Linked DNA regions of Homo sapiens: regions 1, 2 and 3 are each linked to region 4. Evidence: promoter capture Hi-C in 16 types of primary human blood cells and fetal thymus (Javierre and others, 2016). All regions are on one chromosome and are shown on one strand. The core of a region is centred on a gene start or on the middle of the fragment in contact, and the rest is flanking DNA. Distances in the headings are between cores, read along the strand shown.

Region 1 (3,693 bases), core at 292-2,791, 400 kb before region 4:
ATCAGTTACTAGTGTTTTGTTTGATCTGTAACATGTAATAACAGATGATGGAGGTCGCAAGGTGTTTTTTTTGTTTGTTTTTTTTAAGTCTTTGTTCTCTTTATTTTGCTGTGTTAAATTTTGCACTTACTTTAAGAGGCTCCAGGTCATAGAAAGAATAGGTGAGCCTCTAATGGACAAGTCTTGCAGAGGCTGCCTTCTAGAGACAGGAAGCCTGGTTTCTGACTTAACCTATGAAGCAGTTAGGACTCTTCCTGGACCCAGAAAAACATACAATTGAACCAAGTCGTTTTATGCATGACCCATTCTACATAAGTAATCTTTGACACAGGATTATGTATACATATAGACTTAAATTCGATATCATTGCACCTTGATGAGCAACAAGTAGCTTAAGCAAAAAAGGGACTTTACTATAAGGATACAGTGGCAGTACCTGGAACCTAAGGCACCTATGAATGGTGCTGGGCCTCAGGAATGGGCAGGACCCAGGGGCCATATGCCTGGAGGTGTGCTCCTGTTCTCTCCCACTCCTCTCTTCACTTGCTCTCCAACTTCTCCGTTATTTGCTTTTCCTCTTTCCTCTCTCTCCTTTGCTTTCTCCCAGTTATAAAATCTGCTTTTCACTATGCAGTAAAAAGGAATGGATCCTTATTGGCTCTGGCTGAGTCAGGTACCCATGCTTGCCCATCAGTGGAAGTTGTGGTCAACTGGGAAAACATAGCTGGAAGGAGGCTCACAGCTGTAAAGACTGGTATGTGAACATCAGGGTAGGAGAACTGGGGGTGGGGTGTGGATGCTTCCCAGAAAGGGAACCGGGAAAACCATTTAATGTGTCTACTGTAATTCTTTCTGGTTCAGTGAGCCTTTTAGTGGGCAGAAAATGAGTTGCTCCCAAGTTTTAAAATCTCTCACAGTGCCTTTGTCCCTGTTCCCTAAACAGCCTTTTCCATGGTTCCCCTCCGCCAGTGGAATAAAGCCAAAACTAGCTTAAATGTAACAGGGAAATCCTTCATTTAGATTACATCAACCTAGCTTTTTCTTTTGCCACTGCCTCTCTTACACCATGAAGTCCAGAAAAATTGAACTATCTTCCATCTCCTGAAATGGCTTTATCTTTCCCAGCTCTTACTTTCACTTGGATGGTTTAATCTAGTGGCTATAGTTTTAGTATGCATCAGAATCACCTGGAAGGCTTGTTAAAACTCACATCATTGGAAGAATCCACAGAATTTCTGACTCACTAGGTCTGGGGTGGAACGCAAAATCTTACATTTCTCACAAATTCCCAGGTGATGTAGAAGCAGCTGGTGCTGGGATCATGCCTTGAGAAATTTAATTTCTCAGGAGTGCTCTTCCACGCATCTACATTTATGCAAATGTTAAGATTACTTCATTCTTAGCTGCTATGTCTTATTTTGTCTTCCTTAGCTGTTAAACCAAAAGTAATTTCTGTCTTTACTGTGCTTCTGTAGCTAGTTGGAATTCTCTTAAACCATTACCTACCTTGCATTACAATTAATTTGTAAGTGAATATTCCTTAAGGGTAATAATAACTTACCTATTTTTGCATTATCCATAGTGCATATCAAAAATATTTTCTAGGCATATCACTGGTGAACAGCAACAATTTTGACTTTCTCTTTACTGTTTTGGATGCCCTTTATTTCTTTCTCTTGTCTGATTGCTCTGGCTAGGACTTCCAGTACTATGTTGAATAGAAGTGGTGAAAGTGGGCATCCTTGTCTTGTTCCAGCTCTCAGGGGGAATGCTTTCAGTTTTTCCCTGTTCAGTATAATGTTGGCTGTGGGTTTGTCATAGATGGCTTTTATTACCTTAAGAATATTTTCTATATATTTTTAATTGAATTACAGATGTAGACCATAACCTTAAGAAATATGAATCCTTTCATAGGAAACTGGAGAGTATTTCTTATTTTTTTCTTACTCATAATAGTTGTACCTTAATTCTTGACTTACATGGTCCATGAACTACAGTTTGTGAAGAGGTGAGTGGATACCACTTTTGGATCATCTACATTGTGCTAGCTAACTTGCATATTTTATTTTAAATTCTGTCAGCAACCCTGAAGATACATACTGTTAATCTCATTCTACAGATGATAAAACTAAGTCTCAGAACAGCTAGGAAACTTGTCCAAAGTCACGGTAGGAAGTCACAGAACCAGAATTTGTAAAGGGCAGCCCTTATGATTTATCTTTTTTTTTTTTTTTTTGAGACAGAGTCTCGTTCTATCCCCCAGCCAGGCTGGAGTGCAATAGAGTGATCTTGGCTCATGGTAACCTCTGCCTCTCAGGTTCAAGCAATTCGCCTGTCTCAGCATCCTCAGTAGCTGGGATTACAGGCATGTACCAGCATGCCTGGCTAATTTTTGTATTTTTAGTAGATATTGGGTTTCACCGTGTTGGCAAGGCTGGTCTCAAACTCCTGACCTGAAGTGATAAACCGCCTTGGTCTCCCAAAGTGCTGGGATTACAGGTGTGAGCCACCATGCCCGGCCCTCTTATGATTTTTTATATCCCACACTTCCTTCCCATGGAGAAAATACTTAACACTGATCATGAAGTGAACTGCCAGCAATCAAAGAGGTGATAAAGTCCCTGGAACACAGCAGGTGTCCAGGAGAAGATGGCCCAACCAGGCTGCCAGGAAAACACTCCTGGCTTCCTGATGCCATTTGCCATGTGAAGCTGTATGCCAGATGCTGGATTGTGAGAATGGAGAGTCTTTCCTTAAAGGAGAAAAGTGGCTTCAATGATTAAGAAGCATGAACTTTCATCAGCTTTTTGTACTTCTTCTCATATATTACTAAAAATCTACGTTTTTTTTCCAAAAGTAAATTCTGTCTTTTTTTTTTATTCCTGAACTCAAATAATTAATAAAAGAACAGGCTTATATGCAAAATGTTACAACTACAGACCTTACTGGTTCAAGTAATTACTTGAAGAAATATCATATCTTAAAATATTTCCATCCAGTGCATCCTTTTTATTAGCACTCTATAAATTTGCTGTCACTGTGATATCTGCAGGGAATGCTTATAAATTAAAAAATCAAATAACAAAACTAACATCGCCACATTTTTTTTTTAACAATCTGTTCTGAAGGATCTGAGTAGATGCAGTTGAAATATGGACATACAGTTTGAGTGATTAGAATTTATAGGGGAAACAGTACCATTTCTACATGACTTTCATTTGCATTTGTTTGTTATTCTCCTAATTTTGTCTGCAGTAGCCTTGGGGATGAGTTCTGTTACATCGTGATATCTTCCTTTATATAACTAAGTTTAGAAGTCAATCAGACTACTGAATAAATTCATAATATCTAGTCCCATGATGTAGATAAAGCAGGAAATATTTTAGCTAATTCACTTGGGGGAGACTTCTTGATGCAAGGAATTGGAAATGGGAGCAAATATACAACAATGCTAAGTCATCACCTAAACCAAGCAATGATAAAACTTTGAAGCCCTTAGGTCAGGGAAAAGTTAGTAAGTTACACATTGCTGTTTAATTCTTGTTATGGGGAATACCCATCAAAGTGACATATTATCCACTGGAAGATTCGTGCATTCTTTCCTTCTGCCCTGTAGGTGGCAGACTTCTTGGCTAAGACAATTACCTCTTCTTTTGTGGCATTTGGGGAATTAGCATACCTTTCTTCCAGTCC
Region 2 (4,121 bases), core at 1,255-3,754, 440 kb before region 4:
TAACCCATCTTGAGTTGATATTTGTATATGGTGAGAGATAGAGGCCCAGTTTCATTCTTCTGCGTATGGCTATCCAATTTTCCCAGCATCATTTATGGAAAAGCGTGTTCATTCCCAATGTATGTTCTTGTAGACTTTGTCAAAGATTGATTGGCTGTAAGTATGTGGCTTTATTTCTGGCTACTCTATTCTGTTCATTGATCTATATGTCTGTTTTTATACTGGTACCATGCCGTTTTGGTTACTATAGCTTTGTAGTATAATTTGAATTCAGGTAATGTGATACCTCCTGCTTTGTTCTTTTTGCTTGCTTTGGGTATTCGGGATTTTTTTTTTCTTTGGTTTCATACAGGTTTTAGGATTTTTTTTCTAATTTCATGAAAAAAGACACTGGTATTTTGGTAGGAAGTGCATTGAATATATAGTTTTGGGTAGTATGGTCATTTTAATGACATTAATTCTTCTGAATCATGAGAATAGGATGTTGTTCCATTTTTTAATGTCATCTACAATTTATTCATTAGTGTTTTGTAGTTTTCCTTGTAGACATCGTTCACTTCCTTGGTTAAATATATTCCTAGGTATTTTGAGGTTTTCTGTGGCTATAATAAATGGGGTTACCTTCTTGATTTGATTCTCAGCTAGATGATTATTGGTGTATACAAAGTTTACTTATTTTTATTTGTTGATTTTGTACCCTGAAACTTTACTGGATTCATTTATCAAATCTAGTTTTTTGGTAGAGTCTTCAGGGTTTTCTAGATGTAAGATTATATCATCAGTGAATAGGGATAATTTGGCATCCTTTTTTTTCCAGTTTGAATGTCTTTTCTTTCTTCTTGCCTAATTGCTGTGGCTAGGACCTCCAGTACTATATTGAATAGGAGTGGTGAAAGTGGGCATATTTGTATTGTTCCAGTTCTTAGAAGAAATGATAGGCAACGAAGATTTTGAAGGGTGGAGGGGTGAGAGGGGTGAAGATGAAAAGTTACTTAATAGGTACAATATGCATTATTCTGGTGAAGGATACACTAAAAACCCTGAGTTCGCCACTATGCAATATATCCATGTAACCAAATTACACTTGTACCCCATAAATTTATACAAATAGCTTTTTAAAAAAATTAGAAAAAATAATACAAATAAAAAATACAGTAAACAACCATTTGCATAGCATTTACATATATTAGGTATTTTAAGCAATCATGAGATGATTTAAAGTATAGTCATGCATTAATTAATGAGGGGGATACTTTATGAGAAATGCATTGTTAGATAATTTTATCATTGTGCGAACATTACAGACTGTACTTACACAAACCTAGGTGGTATAGCTTACTACACAACTAGGCTATGTGGTACACCCTAGCGCTCCTAGGCTGTAAAGATATACAACATGTTACTATACTGAATAGTATAAGTAATTGTAACACAATGGTAAGTACATAGGAGAGGTACAGTAAAAGTATGGTATTATAATCTTAGGGTATCACTGTTGCAAATGAAGTCCGTCATTGACCAAAACATTGTTATGTGGCCCATGACTGCATACAGGAGGATATGTGTAGATTATATGCAAATATTACATTTTATATAGGAAAGTTGAGTGTACTTGAATTTTGGTATCTGTAGGAGGAGTCCTGAAACTAATCCCCAGCAGATACCAAGGGAGGACACTCTATACTCCTCCAACTGAGGTACCATCAGCTCAGGTGGCAGAACGTATTATGCTTACTAGAGCTTACAATCTAACAAAACCCTAGAAAGTAAACATGCATACATAGAGCAGGTATGCTTTTGCAGTAGTACATGACTTTGGGATGCTTTGCAACCAAGGAGGTTTCTCATCTCTGCTGGAACTTCCATCAAAAACAGACAGGAAACTTTTATGCAGTCTACCACCAATGGGCATTTAGGTTGATTTCATAGCTTTGCTATTGTGAATAGTGCTGCAGTGAACATTTACCTGTATGTGTTTTTATGCCTACCAGGGGTTGTAGGGTGGGAGGAGTGAGAGGATCTATAAAAATAACTAAAGGGAACTAAGCTTAATACCTGGGTGATGAAATAATCTGTACAACAAACCCCTATGACCCAGGTTTACCTATATAACCTACGCATGTACCCCTGAACTTAAAAGTTTAAAAAAAGAAACTTTTAGATGCTTCCTAGGGAGGTGACTATTACAAAGGTTGAAGCCCATACAAAAACTGATAGTATGAAAGTTTGGGGAAAATGCTATAGCAGATCATTCTGCCAATAAGCAGGCTTCACCAAGGTTATGAGCCTAATTAAACTCTCAAAGAATAAATCCCTTGAAATATTCAAAAAGGCCGTTATGAAATATCAATGTTAAGTTCCTAAAAAGTCCTAAAAAGGAAGAATGGAAAAACTCTGGTTGCACATTTCACACAGATCATCTCTGGCACCCCCAATGAGGACACTGGAGACATGAATAACTTCCAATGGATATGAACAAAATTTCTCTATAAAACTACTCATCATGGTACAGACAAATTGGTTACTATCTTAAATCATCATTGGTGGGGAAGATTTATGGACTGATGAGGCTATTTTTAGATCATGTGTCACCTGTCAACCCAACAGCATCTTGGAGAAACTATAAAGGTGGATGTGAAACCTCAAGAACCCTTAACACCCTCAGATAGGTTTTGTCCAATTTCCATTCTCCATGAAACTTGTATGCCTATTTTCAGGATCGGTTGAAACATTTCCTTGCTGAAAAGCTACAGCCTTCACAATCAGTACAAAGCTCCTTGATAATGCATTTCTAATTTGGGGCATACCAACTTTTATAACAAGTAACCAAGGCTCATGTTTTATGGGAGCCATTGTAAAAGAAATTTGTAATGCATTGTCCCTTACTCAAAAATGACACTGCCTTTATTACTCACAATTTTCTAGAAAAGTTGCAAGAACCACTAGCATCATTAAAATTAGCAAGCTTTCTGAAGGACGTGAGCCTCCTTTGGGAGGCCAAAGTTATTTCCACCAGCACTTATGGCCATATGGTCCACCTGCTCAGAGAATTACTGGTTATCTATCTATGAACTGGTAACTGGAAGGCCCCTTCATTTATGGACACCACCTACAGTATTAGACTACCCTGCTACACAAAAATATGACAAAATAGCAAAAGAGGCTCATGTAGTATACTCAGTTTTATCACCAATAAGTTAAGATTGACTTCTTAACTTGTTTACAATCCTTTCCTACACAGCCTCTTTATGATCTTCAACAGGAGATCCTGATTATTAGAACAGACATTAGAAAAAACTGTTCTTGAACCTCCCCTGTAAGGGACCTTATCAGATACTTTTAACAACAAATACATCATTGAAACTCCAGAGATCAATCCTTGGATTCATGTTTCATAACTAAAGAAGCAATTCAATATTCTATACAACTGGAAGGCTACTCCAACAGAAAAACTTAAACAGAATTCTTAGAGATATTATAGAAATAGTTGGTCTTCAGAAGCAGATGGCTGATCCAAAACCTCCAGAAAAAGATGATCTTGGACAGTAGACAGCTTGCACCCAATACATCCAACCTAAAACCCCTGCATTCTTGTTTGTTTTTCAATCTTCTTACCTGTTACCACTCTCCTTATTTTCCATAGAGCTCTGATTGTCATCCACTAATAATGGTTCTTTTTCTCTTTTTTTTTTGTCTATTATAATTAAGTCAGAACATACTCATTCTAATGCCATTCTTATATTTTTTTTTTCAAAAATAAGCCACTGCCCTCAATATTACAGACTGCTGTATAGGTCAACCAGAACCAGAACCCCTGATAAAAAACCTCTGAGCAATCCTAGTCTCATCAAATGATACCCCAGCAAATTATAATCAGTGACATTTCCACTTGTACCTACATGGACAAATGACTTTAAACAAATCAACCTAAGACTTTGCTGTTGTCTCTCTATACCAGAAAAAGAACCAATTCTTACTGCCTGTTTATCAGACTCTATATAATTCTAAATTTGAATTCCATAATCTTCACTGGACAATGGGCCAATTACTTGATGCCAGGAAGACAGTAATAGAGATTCAAATAGGTAAACTCAGCTAATGTGAGGCCTTGGTTCCAACCT
Region 3 (3,850 bases), core at 403-2,902, 460 kb before region 4:
CAAACAACAGGACACAATTCATATTGATTTTTCTTCCGAAAAACATCTTCCTAATCAATATCATTTATTCTAATATATAAAAATAGTGTTCATACTTAACCAGTGCATTATGCTGTACCCTGGTATTTTATTATTCTGAGTTTTAAAAAATAACAAGACCACAACACTAATTTAAAAATAAAAGAAATAGCAGTGCTTGTTAATATGCCCTAAAACGGTGTTTGTCAAAGTGTGGTGGTTCACACACCTGTAACTAGAATTAACCAGGATGCTTGTTAACGTTCTGTAACTCCATCTTAGTGAATTAACTGGAGGGGAATTTGGAAATTGCATTTTCACAAAGATTTCTGGTGATTCCTGCGCACACTACAGTTTGTGAAACACTGCCAAGCTAGCCAGTGGTTCCCAAGTCGGCTGTACATTATACTCACCTGGAAAATTTATAAAAACACCAATGGTCAGACCTCAGCCCAGAGCAATTAAGCCAGAATCTATCGGCCATGGGCAGTGTTGCCAAATAAAATACAGAAGGTATTTCTTTAACATGCTTATAGTAACAAAATAATTCTTGTTTATCTGAAATTTAAATCTAACTAAACATCCCATGTTCTTATTTATTACATTTGGCAGCCCAAGTTATAAAGCTCAGGCACAGCAAGATTTTTAAAAAGCTTTCCTTTTTGAGTCAACTGGACAGTTGAGATTGAAAACAACTGATACTAAACCTAGGCTCTAAAGATATCGAAAGATATGACTATACACAAACTCTCAGGCATTAGGCGCAGAGTTGAAACAATCTAGCTCAGAAGCAAAGTGAAGTACCCATCACAGCTCCACTATCTCATATACTCATTTGTTTTCCCCAAAATTTTACAGGTGTTGACTGATTTTTAGGTAAGTTTATAATAAATGAAAAGTATCAACATAAGACTCATCTTTTTAAAATAAAACATCATTTTTAGGAAATACTTAGAAAATACTAAATAAAATGAGAGTTTCCAAAAAGTTGGTGTCCATGATCAGCTAAATTCTTTTATAATTGGAAAATTGGCTTCTACAGTCACAAATCCCTCTTTTTGGATCACCAGAATTCCCATTAGGAGAGGAGTCATGAGTAACAACCACCTCTCTCAATGCCATTCAGTCTGCCTTGAAGCGTTCACCTGGCAGCAGAAAATTAACAGCATTTCCTCCTTGCGAAAAAGTTAGGAGCCTTTAGACATTATCCAATTGTCCAATGAATGGGGATCCATGTGGATAAACGCAGGCACAAAATCATCCACAGTTTTACACAGTAAGGGAGAAGATTAAGTTTACTGGATGTATGTTGCTGCAGCCAGTGAAGTTAGAATAAAATAAGACTGGAAAAAAAAAAAGCCCAAAATTTTTGGAAAGGCAGAGTTTCCCCATTATGGTCACCCCACATTTAAAACATCAACATAGTCTACACATAAAAATAATTTACAATAAAATAAAACATCAATATATGAACCTTAAAATAACATTTTCTCAAGAAGAATTTCAGCTTCTAATTTTCCTTAATATACATGAGTTAAGATTTTAAAGATGAAATTTAAACAAAGCTGAATTCTAATCAGATAACTGATTTCAGGAGTTACTAAATAAATTTTAACAAGAATATATCTTCATAACGTACCTTTGTAAATGAAGAAAGAACACAAATTAATTAATATGAGAAAAGTACACGCCCATTTAAGCCTTTTTTATATAATTTATCTCTGTTGTCCATGATTTCAGATTTCCTGAAATTTCCTTAAAAGGTATATTCCCAGTATCACATCAACATATCATATCATATCAAACACTTAGCCATCATCTTGCTTCTGAAAAAAAAGTGAAATTCTAAAACTACCTTGATATCTATTAGCATATAGCTCTAGATTTTGATGATAATTAATCCACTTCTTTAAAATGTGGTGTTTACCAAAGAGGGAAACATAAATGACCAGTGGATGACTTAAATGACCTTCACTGAGTTAACATGGCACTCCTAATGACCATTTGTCATGGCTCCTGGCAAACTATTTCTCACTAATATAATGATAGGGGAGTGGCTCATAGGAACCTGGTGATTTAGTGTTTACACACTAAATCCCTTTAAATTAAAAATAAACTAAGCACAAGATGCCACCTCATTTGAGGTTCACAGTGTGCCCATTCCTCCCTTTTTGGTCTAGGAGAACACTAGCCCTCTGTGAATGCATGACATAGACTCCTCTGGCTAAGATCCTCTAGTTAAAGCACCCTCCAAAAAGAAGAGCCCTCCTCTCATGGATATTATATTCATTATTAGCAAATAAATATCATTATTCCCAGAAACAATTTTGGAGGACCCACTGGGGCTTGTCTCAATTCTAGGCATTATAAAATTCAGTCCTACACTGAGCTCATCATCTTATCTCTCTTTAGGATAAATAAATGTGGGTTGCGAGATTTAATAAATAAATATACACGATGCCCAGTTAAATTCAAATTTCAGGATCAGAAGTGCGCTGTTCTCTCCTTTTGAATGGGAGAGTCTAATTGGACATTTTACAATTATAATCCATTTACTGAAAATAAAAATAAAAGTTCAAACTGAACTCTAGACTACAGAAATGGTCATTAAATGTGAAAGCTTCCTATCCCCACCCTATGAGTTATTATCAGACTTGCAGTTCATTAATTCTTGAGATATTCATGGCTTATAATTATCCTAGCTTTTCTGTCAATATAAAGGTTACAACTTAATAAGAGTTACCACGCTAAACCTCTTAATTTTTATAAATACTTCATCTGTGTTGTGAATAGCATTAGTAAAAGTGGCTTAAACTGAATGGCCTAAGAACATCATTTGTGGTTTATCATCTATTATTTACATTTTTAACATTTAATCTGGAATTACAAGCAAAATAGCATATATTCTTGTTATTTTTTAAAATATTAAATCACCAATAACATTTCCAACTCTATTTTTTTTAAAAAATCATATTTTGGATTTCTCTAAATACCATGCCATGCTCCATGGTCCATGAATATATTCATTAGGACTGCAGCCAGCAGTGTGCAAATTTATCAATAACTCTCAAGTAACAGAAGTGAAAGGCTGCTCCAATTTGAAGTCTACTGACAATTCTCTGAAGCCAAAACCTTTTAGTCTATCAAGCATGGATTTATTCATGATTTTTGACCTTAAAAACTTTAGGGGGAGAGTGTTGAAAAATTTAAAGGTCTAATCATTGTATAAAAACTACTCTTAGAACATGAAATACTATTCTAAAATCTGTACCTAGGACTAAGATTGTGTAAAACAACAAAGGAACTCAAAATTGACTGCTCTCTCTCTTCTCCCTCATAGCAACATGAACTTTTGTCTGGCTCAAGCCCAATACTATCTAAAGATATATTTTGATGTTCCCATTAAAAGTAAGATGGAGACAACAAATATTGAACTGATAGTATTTGAAAAATGATTTGAGATTGTCTTATTTGGGGATAAGTTTACAACCCCAGGAAAACTGCAAGAAGAGAACGCCTCTAAGAGAAGGGCCAAATGACATCAAGATGCTCTGAATTCTGCACTAAAGAAAGTCTCAGAATTCTTTCCCATATTTACACGTTGCCAAGTCCAGTGTCTTCAACTTGTCTTCCATTATATTGGGATTAATACCTTAGAGCATTTTTTTTTTCCATTGTGTAGTGTGCATTACCTTCATAGGGGCAAAGAGAATGCCCCAAAGCAGATTCAAAGTGTATAACTCAGGATTAAGAAAAAAGGCTTCAACGTTTGCATTTTACCAAGATAGAACAAAGACATCAAGGAGAGTCCTGATGGGCAAAAATTACAGAT
Region 4 (3,911 bases), core at 1,221-3,720:
TCCTACAAAGCCTCCCGTCATCTATTTCTCCCCACATCCCTTATTCAAAAGCAAGAATTCTCTATCTTAGACATGGTACAACCTGTAGTTGACTCTAAAATGGAAAAATTGCATTTTAAAAAACCTTGGTTCATTTTCCCTGACGGAGGAAGCTTTTCTTTTCAAAATTATCAAGCCACACGTTTTCAAGAACCAGAGAATGAATTGCACACAGCTGATTCTGCCTCCTACAGAGATCTTTCACGGTATTATTCACAAGCAAGTGACCAAGGTAAACTAAAGTGGTTTCTGTAGCCATTTGCAATTATTGACAAACAATTTCATAACGGAAAGTGGAAATTACAGGCAAGTGCAATAAGCTGTTTATCCACGATCTACCTGCTGGTGGCTCTTTTTCTCTATTTTTCTTTCAAGCAAAATACAAGCTACCATAGGAATGCTTTTCTCCCGTTCATGATTTTTCTTGTATCTCCACCACCAACCCTGTTTTCCAGTTCTGTCAGTTGGCAGGATTTGTATTCAATCGCGGTAGTAGCCCAGACTCTAGTGTATTCTTGGGTGTTCCAGAGACTCCCGCACCTTCAGGTTTGTGGGAAAGGATCCCCCAAATGGCAAATAAGGCACTCCCTCCCGGGGTGGGACTTGCTTAGGGGACTTAAGGGTTTCTGCAACCGGCGAGGGGGTCTGTTTTCACCCCCGCTATCTTGGGTGCGCAGACACTCTCTGACACCAGGCTTCACAGTTTGGGCCACGGGGGAAGTAATTCCCCAGGGAACCGCGGGGGTGCGGTTTTGCGCAACTGGGTGACTCGCGTGTCCCTCCGCATTTCATTTGCACCAAGGGAGCGCGTGTCAGACGAAGGGAATTTTTTTTTCTTTTTTGGTGATTCTGTTATTTTTTCACCAACTGTACGAAGCTCAAGGGATATCCGAGCTTTCTGGCTGGGCGGATGGGCTTCGCGCTTGGCATGGCTGAGCGGTCCATCTCTACCTCTCCGTTTCTATCTCTACCATAACAGCGACCACTCAGCCCGCCAGGAGCCCCTGTTTCCCAGCGCAGGTTCCTTTTTCTTCTCAGTTCCTTGGGCTGTTGAAGCCGGGTTCTGGGTAGATAGAGACTGGGGCCGTGGGGAGAGCGCCAGGCTGCTTTTGCCTTTCCCGCGCCCCGGGGCATTCCGGCGCGCTGGGGATGCAGCCTCCGCCCCCGCCGCACCTGGCCGCCCGAGCGCCCGCGCCCACGCCCCGCGCGGGGCCGCCCGAAACTGGGGCCGCGCCAGCCGCGGGAGCTACCGAGGAGCTGTTGGGGTGCGTTTGCCTTTGCTTTTTAAACAAGATCCCCGAGACCTTTTCTCCATCCCCCCAACCCCCAGCAGGACACGGAACTCCGGCGTTTCTCGAAAGCCACAAAAGAGGGGCACGGAAATCCCAAGCTCGCCGTGCTAACTCGGAGAACGCAAACTCGAGGCAGAGCGTGCGCCGTGCGGGGATGTGGGTGTCGAGGACCCCGAAGCGCCCGGCTTCCCCCGCGACCCCCATCCTCCCTAGATCCTGGTTAGACATCCATCCAGCCCACGCTCAGAGGGCGGGGGTTACCCCGACTCATCCCGGAAGCCGCTAACTTCAGAAATCCCTCCTGTTAGGTTCGCGAAACGAAGGTACCTCGTCATCTCGGCGGGGCAAGTCCGGATTCCACCAGGGCAGGTCCGGGAGGTCACCCAGGGCAGACGATCCGAGGCAGAGCGCTTTAAAATCCTGCCGCCGCACGCCCAGTCAGAGCGCCGAGCGCGCCTGCCCCCTTCCCGTCACCCTTCAGTCTCCCATTCGCCGACTAAACTTTTGGGGGATCACATCTCCAAGCCTTGGGAGTTCCGGGTAAAGTCTCCCTCTTTTCTGAACCTCTTTACTGTAATGTAATCATGGGCAGACAAGAGGGGTGGCTGCCTTGTTCTTTGCAACGTAAAATCAACAGACACCCAATCAAGCTCCAATGCCCGGCCAGCCCCTCGCCCCCTGGTGCCCACTCTCCTTCTCCCCCCATTCCCGTCACCTCCGCCCGCTATTTCTCTCACAGACTACGGACATGCAGGGCCATCTACTTGTGCTCAGGAAAAACAAATCACTAGAGTGATATGAGAAGGAATGGTGCACCTGGCTGTCCGCTGAAAGGTTTTAGAGAAGAAAACGGAAAGGGGAATAAAACGGGGGGATTCTCCTTTTCCAACAAGCAGGGCGTTTTGGGGAAGTTTGGGGGCCAGGGGCTTTTTGTCCCGTGGTTCGGCACTTGCTTTCCTCGGAGCCGCTTTCTGCTGCCGGGCGGCGAGTCTTACCCTGCTCCCCGCAGAGGGCGCGGTGAGGAAGCCCGCCGGGGGCCCGCAGCTCCATGTCAGCGCCGCCGCCGCCGCCGCCGCCGCCGCGTGAGGCGAGCACAGCGGCCGCACTTGTGGCTGATCTCTGGGCTGAGGGGGCTGAGCTGGCCTAGCAGGCGCCAAGTCTCTTCCATGTGAATAACAAATACTCCCACCGGCGGCCGCGATTGGTCTGCGCCCGGCGCCTCCCGATCCTCCGCCCGCGGCCATTCACCCGGCGCGGCGCGGGGAGCCGCGGCCAGGATCGCGCCCGGGATCGCCAATCGCTTCGCGCCAACCAGTCACCTCGGGAAGCGGGAGGAGGAACCCCCGAGGGGCGGGAGCCTCTGGATTTCGGTGTCACCCAGCGGCCCTGGCGCGGGCAGGGAGGGGGACCCTCGGCCCGCGGATCCCCCTCCGCTCTTCAGCCTGAAGCGACGAGGAGACCAGAAATGTCAATAGTTCTGATTTTTAAAAATCATCCCCCCTTCCCCGCCCCCAAGAAAAAGGGGAGGACCCAACTACAGAGTGAGAGGGTGGGAAGAAGCGGGAGCGGTAGAAGAAGGAATATGGTTGTGGAGGAGCCCAGCGGCTCCGGCTGCCTGGCGAGCCCGGGACCGGCGCGGGGAGGCGCGACGCCCGCCCGAGCACAGCGGGCAGCACCCGCGAGCCCGGGTCCCCGGTGAACACAGCTCCAGAAAGCGTCACCGAGAATAACACATGGTAGATGACAAGTGTCCCGCCACATGCTTTCTTTTCGGGAATGCTTAAAGTAGAGCCGGCAAGCCGCGCGGTTCCCTTGCAAAGTTTGCCTGGCGCCGCGCGGCGGTTCCGCCATTTGTCCCGCCCCGCGGCTCTGGCGATTGTCTCCCCACTCCCCGCCCCCGAGGGTCTGAGGGACGCGTGCAACAGAGTCCCCAGGGCTCGAGGTACCACACAGCGCGGTCCGCTGCGGGCACTGCGCAGGAAGGGGCATGGGTGGCTACCGGGACGGTCATTTTATTGAGATGATTCAAGGAGCCGCAGACGCGGGGCAGGAAACTCCGGGGGAGCCGTGCTCGGGTTCTGCAGGGAAACCTCGGGATTCCCTTCGCATGCCGCATGCGGAAACCTGCCGGGCTCGACGTGCACAGTCCAGCGCTCCTCCCCACTAGTTACTGCCCAGGCCCCCCGATCCTGCACCCGCCGGAATGAGAGAAAGTAGCCCCTCGCCGCCCAGCTCCCGGGTAGCTGCTCCGGCCGGGCCTTGCGTTGGTGAGAAAGTTCCATCTAGAGGCGGCCGCGCGCAACTGCAGGCGGCGCCCTAGGCCCGGGCGAGCCAGGGAGAGCGGGGCGCGGGGGGAGAGGGGGCAGCCCAGGAGATAAGGAGGATGGAGAAGGACGGGAGAGACCCCGAAAAGGCAAGCTCTAGACCCCCGTTCGGCATCTCTACAATGAATTTTATCTTCCTAAGCATCATGAACTTATAAGCATTATGTCAGGAATCTTTCATTAATTCCTGTATATATCGCCTGTTCTGTTCGGGTTATTTTAATTTTCACATCAACTCTGTGAGATGGTCAAAATT

What was found. Contacts are between HindIII fragments. The CHiCAGO score rates a contact against its expected background, and 5 or more counts as called.
Region 1: a fragment that was not itself captured here is called in contact with the fragment with the promoter of GRM8 in region 4 in 1 of 17 cell types (M2 macrophages); the score reaches 6.7 in M2 macrophages.
Region 2: a contact is called between a fragment that was not itself captured here and the fragment with the promoter of GRM8 in region 4, in 1 of 17 cell types (endothelial precursors). The highest score is 6.5, in endothelial precursors.
Region 3: a fragment that was not itself captured here is called in contact with the fragment with the promoter of GRM8 in region 4 in 1 of 17 cell types (M2 macrophages); the score reaches 6.1 in M2 macrophages.

Annotation. Positions count from the first base shown.
Region 1 is chr7:126,853,254-126,856,946 of GRCh38, forward strand. All of the region lies in intron 6 of GRM8 (glutamate metabotropic receptor 8), which reads right to left. Among named protein-coding and RNA genes, the nearest start is that of MIR592, 200 kb to the right of the region's middle. The HindIII fragment of the contact is 4,899 bases long and covers 1-3,693 here.
Region 2 is chr7:126,811,021-126,815,141 of GRCh38, forward strand. The region is part of intron 6 of GRM8 (glutamate metabotropic receptor 8); the gene reads right to left. Among named protein-coding and RNA genes, the nearest start is that of MIR592, 250 kb to the right of the region's middle. The HindIII fragment of the contact is 918 bases long and covers 2,046-2,963 here.
Region 3 is chr7:126,794,487-126,798,336 of GRCh38, forward strand. The region is part of intron 6 of GRM8 (glutamate metabotropic receptor 8); the gene reads right to left. Among named protein-coding and RNA genes, the nearest start is that of MIR592, 260 kb to the right of the region's middle. The HindIII fragment of the contact is 1,967 bases long and covers 670-2,636 here.
Region 4 is chr7:127,250,471-127,254,381 of GRCh38, forward strand. It overlaps GRM8 (glutamate metabotropic receptor 8), which reads right to left and starts at 2,471. Exons shown (of 11, transcript NM_000845.3): 1 at 2,327-2,471. RefSeq lists an enhancer at 3,309-3,558 and a silencer at 3,679-3,738. The HindIII fragment of the contact is 9,242 bases long and covers 151-3,911 here.